3 separate regions of the Homo sapiens genome follow, and regions 1 and 2 are each linked to region 3. The links are contacts of gene promoters, found by promoter capture Hi-C in blood cells and fetal thymus (Javierre and others, 2016). All regions are on one chromosome and are shown on one strand. The core of a region is centred on a gene start or on the middle of the fragment in contact, and the rest is flanking DNA. Distances in the headings are between cores, read along the strand shown.

The links. Contacts are between HindIII fragments. The CHiCAGO score rates a contact against its expected background, and 5 or more counts as called.
Region 1: a fragment that was not itself captured here is called in contact with the fragment with the promoter of MMP7 in region 3 in 8 of 17 cell types (M0 macrophages, M1 macrophages, naive B cells and 5 more); the score reaches 13.7 in M0 macrophages.
Region 2: a contact is called between a fragment that was not itself captured here and the fragment with the promoter of MMP7 in region 3, in 2 of 17 cell types (M1 macrophages and total B cells). The highest score is 5.7, in M1 macrophages.

What each region holds. Positions count from the first base shown.
Region 1 is chr11:102,595,676-102,598,375 of GRCh38, reverse strand. The region is part of intron 6 of MMP20 (matrix metallopeptidase 20); the gene reads left to right. Among named protein-coding and RNA genes, the nearest start is that of MMP20, 28 kb to the left of the region's middle. The HindIII fragment of the contact is 6,692 bases long and covers 1-2,700 here.
Region 2 is chr11:102,431,192-102,433,891 of GRCh38, reverse strand. The region is part of intron 2 of TMEM123 (transmembrane protein 123); the gene reads left to right. Among named protein-coding and RNA genes, the nearest start is that of TMEM123, 20 kb to the left of the region's middle. The HindIII fragment of the contact is 4,066 bases long and covers 1-2,700 here.
Region 3 is chr11:102,529,463-102,532,162 of GRCh38, reverse strand. It overlaps MMP7 (matrix metallopeptidase 7), which reads left to right and starts at 1,416. Exons shown (of 6, transcript NM_002423.5): 1 at 1,416-1,570. The coding sequence starts at 1,463. The HindIII fragment of the contact is 6,591 bases long and covers 1-1,831 here.

The sequences.
Region 1 (2,700 bases), core at 47-2,546, 66 kb before region 3:
TCAAAGATCAAATTATAGACTAGTGATATAATCTGTTTATTTTCATTCCAATACATCCTGCAGCTGTTCTTTTCCAAGAGGCTTATAGATTTTTTTGTTTATATTTTAAATCCATTCACAGATGTATAAGGAAGTTACTTGCTATCATTGTTTTTGTGAGTTTTACTTCACTTATTACTACAATCTATAGGTCTAAGGATGCAAATTGTCTGAGTATGTTACTGTTTTATTGCCACAAGACATCATTTTTTTCATTAGTTTACTGAAATTTTTCATGACTACAGATTCTTTTTGAAATTTGTGATAATTTGGCCAGGCATGGTGTCTACGCCTGTAATCTCAGCACTTTGGGAGGTGGAGGCAGGCAGATCACCTGAGGTCGGGAGTTCGAGACCAGCCTGACCAACATGGAGAAACCCCACCTCTACTAAAAATACAAAATTAGCCGGGAGTGGTGTCACATGCCTGTAATCCCAGCTACTCGGGAGGCTGAGGCAGGAGAATTGCTTGAACCCAGGAGGCGGAAGTTGCCATGAACTTAGATCACGCCATTGCACTCCAGCCTGGGCAACAAGAGTGAAACTCCATCTCAAAAAAAAGAAAAGAAAAGAAATTTGTCATAATTTATATAAGTGATGGATAGCATTTATTTCTATCCTATGTGCACATTATATACATTACACTACATCATAGTGGTGTTTAAAGCAGGGTTTCTTAACATTGACACTACTGGTATCTTGAGCCAGATAAGTCTTAGTTGTGTTGAGCTGTCTTTTGCATTAGGATGTTTAGTGGCATCCCTGGCTGTACTCATTAGACTCCAATAGCACTGCTCATCCCCACCTGTGACAACCAAAATTGTCACCAGATATTGCCTAACGTCCCCCAGGGTGCAAAATCACACTTGATTTACAATGACTACTTCAATTTAGTCCTCACGATATCCTACATCAATATTTCCTTAGTAAGGAATTTGAGAGTCTACCACTTGTGAAAAGTTTCAAGAGTACAGTTTTCCTTTGCCTGAGCTCGTAACTACTACCCTTTACTACTTCTCATGTTGAGTCATTCAAGATATCACTGTCCCAAAACTTCAACTAAAAAGTAGGACTTAGCTTTGCCTAGAGTTGCTTGTTGATTTTTAAGTGAGAAATGCAAGAAAATGCATCTGGCTTTAGAGTGATCAAAGAGAAAGCAGCTGGAAGTCTACTACACCTCATCAGAGACATCATTCAGACAGAGCCTAGTTTTGGGAAGACATATCTGCTCCTCTACCTCCCCACTTTCCCCACATGGCCTCATCATTATAATATTCTTAAATGCACACTTTGTGTCTTAGCACAGCAACTTATAAGAGAAAACATTTCAGAGCTATGTATTGAATTGCATTAATTGGAACACACTTGCTCTTCAGGTTTCATCCCAGGTTCCCAATTAATCCAAGAAGTAGTTGCGGGATTCTGGATACCCAAAACTGTATTCATTACGAGGTGGTGGAGAGAAAAGGGAAAAGGGAAGCAGTCCCTCTGGCCTTCAGAAAAGCCCAGGTCTGATTGGACAAAGGGTCAAAGTACAAACAAAGAAAAAACCAGAGGTCACGAGACTGAGCATGAGCAAGTAGGTGAGATCGGACATGTGACTAACCTCAAGGCAGCTAGAGCCTGAGCTGGGCCGTCTCTGCCCCTCACCACCAGTGACCTTTGGGCCAGCAGCCCTTCTGGATCTCAGTTTTTCATCAGTTAAAACATACGCTTTAGATAAGGCTGTGATGTTTGGGGCTTGTGTATTGTCTATGGAGGGTGCCCAATTACCAGGTAATTAAGGCCTAAGCAAATAATACCTTTTCAAACTAACAGTATCTATCCATATGGCACCTTACAGTTTATAATACACTTTCATATTCATTATCTCATTTTATCCTTATAATGGTCTCATGATATTGGCCAGGAAATTATTTTTCCCATGTAAGCTGATTAAACTGAGGCTTGGAGAGGCTGGTCAGCAGTGGAGTTAAAACTCTAGCCCACATCTTCTCAAACACAATGTGTTTTTCCTTCTGCACCATGATGCCTCTTACGAAACATGAGGAAATATTTATCTTTTCCCAATACATTCCTTTTTTGGATTTTATCATCAGCTTAAGTTGCCTCATTAGGGATACCTTTATTAAGCCCCTAAATGCAATGGGATATACTTCTTGTGTGTTCTCAAAGTATCCTGAACTTAACTCTTCGTAGCACCAATCACTCTGATCGTTACTAATCAGTCTCTACTATTAGATTGTAAACATATTGAGGGCAGGGCCGACATCTTCTTCAGTGTTTCATCCTTGATGTCCACCACAGTGCCTGATGATAGGTGCTCCATAAATATTTGTTAGATTAACTGAATAGGAAAACTCTACATAAAATTTGGAGAATTCCTAAATTAGCCACTAGGAAAGTTCAATGTCAAAATTTTATTACAGTTTCCCAGTCCCCAAATAATCCTGTGAAGTAATTCTGGGCTCCTAAGAAGACAAGTAAATTATTCGTGTTTTATAAAAAATGATTTTCATCTTCAAACTATAAAATAGAGCACATTACATTGTCAGTTTCAATCCAGTACCCTCATGGGTATACTGCCACAATTTTATGACTATAATATTGGGTAAATGGATAGATGAATTGCTAAGCCTTAAATCAATATGTGTGTACTAGA
Region 2 (2,700 bases), core at 100-2,599, 98 kb after region 3:
AGGCACCTCTTCATAGGGTGGCAGGAGAGAGAATGAGTGCCAGCAGGGGAAATGCCAGACACTTATAAAACCATCAGATCTCATGAAAAACTGTCACGAGAACAGCGTAGGGGAAACCACCCCTATGATTCAGTTACCTCCCACCAGCTCGCTGCCATGACACTTGGGGATTATGGAGATTACAATTCAAGATGAAATTTGAGTGGGGACATAGCCAAACCATATAATTTTACCACTGGCCCCTCCCAAATCTCATGCCCTCAGACTTGATGCCTTCCCAACAGTCTTCCAAAGTCTTAACTCATTCCAGCATTAACCCAAAAGTCCAAAATCTCAACTGAGATAAGGCAAGTCCCTTCCACCTATGAGCCTGTAAAATCAAAAGCAAGTTAGTTACTTCCTAGATACAATGTGAGTACAGGCATTGGGTAAATACACCTGTTCCAAATGGGATAAATTGGCCAGAACAAAGGAGCTGCAGGCCCCATGCAAGTCTGAAATCCAGTAGGGCAGTCATTAAACCTTAAAGTTCCAAAATGATTTCCTATGACTCTGTCTCATATCCAGATCGTGCTGATGCAAGAGGTGGGCTCCCATGTCCTTGAGCAGCTCCACCCCTGTGGCTTTGCAGAGTACAGCCCCCTTCCCAGATGCTGTCACTAGCTGGCGTTGAGTGTCTGTGGCTTTTCCAGACACAGTGCAAGCTGTTGATGGGTCTACCATTCTGGGGGCTGGAGGACAGTGGCCCTCTTCTCACAGCTCCACTAGGCAGTGCCCCAGTGGGGACCCTGTGTGAGGGCTCCAGCCCCACATTTCCCTTCTGCACTGCCCTAGCAGAGTTTCTCCATGAGGCCTCCACACCTGCAGCAAACTTCTGCCTGGACTTCCAGGCATTTCCATACATTCTCTGAAATCCAGTCAGAGGTTCCCAAACCTCAATTCTTGACTTCTGTGCACCCACAGGCTCAACACTACATGGAAACCACCAAGGCCTGGGGCTTGCACCCTCTGAAGCAATGGCCTGAGCTGTACTTTGACCCCTTTTAGCCATGGCTGGAGCTGAAGCAGCTGAGACGCAGGGCACTATGTCCCCAGGCTGCATAGAGCAGGGGGCCCCTGGGCCTGGCCCAGGAAACCATTTTTCCCTCCTAGGCCTCCAGGCCTGTGATGGGAGGGGCTGCTGTGAAGGTATCTGACATGCCCTGGAGACATTTTCCCCATTGTCTTTTGGTGGTTAACATTTGGCTCCTTGTTACTTATGCAAATTCCTGCAGCCGGCTTGAATTTCTCCTCAGAGAATGGGTTTTCTTTTCTGTCACATCATCAGGCTACATATTTTCCAAACTCTTACGCTCTGCTACCTCTTGAATGCTTTGCTGCTTAGAAATTTCTTCTGCCAGGTACCCTAAATCGTGTCTCTCGAGTTCTAGTTCCACAGATCTCTAGGGCAGGGGCAAAATGCCACCAATCTCTTTGCTAAAGCATAGCAAGAGTGACCTTTACTCCAGTTCTCAACAGGTTCCTCAAATCTGCATCTGAGACCACCTCAGCCTGGACTTCATTGTCCATATCACTATCAGCATTTTGGTCAAAGCCGTTCAACAAGTCTCTAGGAAGTTCCAAACTTTCCCACATCTTTTTGTCTTCTGAGCCCTCCAAGTCTCTAGGAAGTTCCAAACTTTCCCACATTTCCCTGTCTTCTTCTAAGTCCTCCAAACTGTTTAAACCTCTGCCTGTTAACCAGTGCCAAAGTCGCTTCCACATTTTCAGCTATCCTTAGAGTAGCACCCCACTCCCAGTACCAATGTACTAGATTAATCTGTTCTTACACTGCTTTGAAGAAATACCCAAGATGGATTAATTTATAAAGAAAAGAGGTTTAATTGACTCAGTTCCACATGGCTAGGGAAGGCTTCAGGAAACTCACAATCATGGCAGAAGGCGCCTCTTCACAGGGTGGCAGGAGAGAGAAAGTGCCAGCAGGGAGATGCCAGACGCTTAAAAAACCATCAGATCTCCTGAGAACTCACTCACTATCATGGGAACAGCATGGGGGAAACTGCCCCCATGATTCAGTTACCTACCACCGGGTCACTGCCATGACACATGGGGATTACAATTCAAGATGAGATTTGGGTGGGGACACAGCCAGCCCATATCACCAAGTTGTAGAATCAACCTAACTGTTTATCAGCAGATGAATGGATAAAGCACATGTGATACATATACACACAATGGAATACTATTCAGCTTTAAAAAAGCAAATGTGCAAATTCTGTCATTTGAGACAACATGGATGGAACTGCAGAGAGTAGAATGGTGGTTCCCAGAAGCTGCAGGGTGGGGAAAAAGGGGAGATGATGGTTAAAGGATACAGAGCCTCAGAGAAGAGGAAAACTTTCTTTTTTCTAGTTCTATTGCACAGCATAGTGAATATAGTTTATCGTGTATGGTACCTTCCAAAATCGCTGAGTAAAATTTCAATGTTCTCACCACAAAAATAAGTATTTGAGGTGATGGATATGTTAATTAGCATGATTAAATTATTCTACATGTATTCATAAATCATAACATCACTTTATACCTATAAATTTATACAGCTGTAATTTGTCAGTTTACAAAGATAAGTATGTGAGGTAATGCCTATATTTATTTAGCGATTCCACATTGTGTACATATATCAAAATATCATGTTGTACA
Region 3 (2,700 bases), core at 167-2,666:
CATTATTCTACAAATATTTATGGTGCACCTTATCACATGTCAAACTCTGACTAAGGATACCAATTACTCTAGTTAAACTGTGACCGTACAGAATCAAGACATCTCTGTAAAGAGAGCAAATTTAATTAACTGATCTGAAAATTTTACCTTTGCTGGCTCACAGTGCTCAATTACCATGTAATTGAAGTGATATGTGATTAATTAAATTTTTTAGCTCCAGCATATTTGGAGTGTTTCCCATGATGTATTAGAGTCAAAAGCCATGGTGTTCTCCCAAGTAATGTATAATATAATAAAAGAGACAGACCTATTACAAAATGAATAGGCAGTGCAGTGGGATAGAAAAAGCACTGAGCTACTATCTGTGTGAGCTGGGAGAAGTATAATAAGTTAAATTATCATCTTGGCCTCACTTTCATTTTTGGTAAGAATGGAGTCATTGGGCTAGAATCTGTAGGTAATGGATTCTTACTGCTATACGTAGAATAACCATTTTGTGTACTAAGGACCAATGCAGCCCTACCTGTAGCTGGGCAGCAGCCAGAGTCAGAGTGATTGGAAGAAAAAAATTGGATCTCCAAGTTGAAGGTCTAGCCTTGGAAGAATCTGTTACTATAAAATGAGAAGCAGAATAAGTAAGCCAGATGAAGAGTTAAACCCGTGCTTGTAGATTTTTGTTGGCTTGGTATTTTTTTGTGTTTAATTCAAGAAGAATTAGAGGCAGTGTTCCCCATTAAGAAAAGACATAAACTGATTAAAAGGAGACCCAAAGAAGGGAATTATCACTGCTCTGCTAAGGGACGTGGAAGGTGAGGGGACACAGCACAGTTGTATATAGAGTGGCCACTAATCCAGCCACACAGCAGCATTTCCATCTGCCTCCTGCCATCTTTCCCCTGTATGGAGAACCACAGGATTTTGGTGATGTTCTATTTCTTGACTTTGGTGACGGTTACAGTATTTGCTTAATTATTATTTCATTATTTACATGTTTTGTGCACTTTTCCAAACCTTTTAATTGTTAAGAATATATGGTACCATGTATTTAAGAATACATGGTACCATATAATAAGAATATATATTTAAGAATATATATTATTCTTTAAGAATATATGGTACCATAATGTCCTGAATGATACCTATGAGAGCAGTCATTTGACTTTGGCAAAAAAATGAGGTTTCTCATGGAGTCAATTTATGCAGCAGACAGAAAAAAAAATCCTTTGAAAGACAAATACATTGTGTGCTTCCTGCCAATAACGATGTAATACTTCCTCGTTTTAGTTAATGAAAAATAACACATACTTTCAAAGTTCTGTAGACTCTAAAAAGAAAGAAAACACTCAAATGAGTCACCTATTTCCACATTCGAGGCTGAGAAGCTATATAAATTTCTGCAGTCACTAGCAGAAAACACCAAATCAACCATAGGTCCAAGAACAATTGTCTCTGGACGGCAGCTATGCGACTCACCGTGCTGTGTGCTGTGTGCCTGCTGCCTGGCAGCCTGGCCCTGCCGCTGCCTCAGGAGGCGGGAGGCATGAGTGAGCTACAGTGGGAACAGGCTCAGGTATGTCACAGCCCACTTACTTAGGGTTCCATTCTTTTGCCATCTGCATTAAGAAATGTGTTTTTCAATTATTTCCCTTCCCATGTTAGCATTGCAGTGGAATTTTCTTTGGGGTGGTTCTTCGGATTATAAAAGCAATATATGTTTTCATCAAGTAGCCATTAAAAGCAGGTTTCAGAATCTGCTCAAATCGGGCTTGAGTTCCAACCCTCCACTCACTATGTAGATAGACTCAGGAAGGTCATCAAACTTCTCTAAGCTTCAGGTTTCCAATTTGGAAGTTGGAGATAAGAATGGTATCAACCAAATGAGGGTGTTGTGAAGCATTCAACACAATACCTGAAACATTGTTTAAATTAAGTTCTTATTTTTATTTATTATAACTTGAGATTCTTTTTCTATAGTATACAGAATATTGCCTCTTAAGATACAACCTGTAAATATACTGTTTGTGTATTTACAATACTGTTTGTAATGGAGATATCTGAAGTCAGAAAACATGGGTAGAAATTACAACTCTCCAACAAGTCAATGACAATAGACAAGGCATTAACATCTGACTTTGTTTTCTCATGTGTCCAGTAGAAAAAATAATATTATGTGTTTTATACCTCATGGGGTATTCTAGTAAGTAAATGAGGTGATAACAAAACCAACTAGCATGTATGTAACAATTGTAGATTATAAAGTACTTATATAGACATTGTGTCATTTAATCCTTAGTTCTATAAAAAGAGGAAACCAAAGTTAAACTGATTAGTGTACTTATTAGTGGTAGAGATAGAAATCAAGGACAAGTGCTTCTGGTTCAAAAATCATGTTCCTTGCAATATGCTTCTTAATAAGCAGTCTAATAAATATAAGCAGTCTACTAATTATTATTTGGTTAACTAATGGGATGATTACTTATAACTATTATTTGTAAATTTAGGCCTTAAGCATAAGAAAAGTCAATTTTTAATTCACATTAACTTAGACTTTTAAAAAGTTCCAGTTATAATAAGTTAGATTGAACCACATAAAGTTACTAGTATTTAACTTTTAAAATCTCCAAAACAGTAGTTTTATATGGTTCCACCTAATGAATTCTCCAGAAAGAGTACTCTGCGTTTAGTTTCTTTACTTAGAGT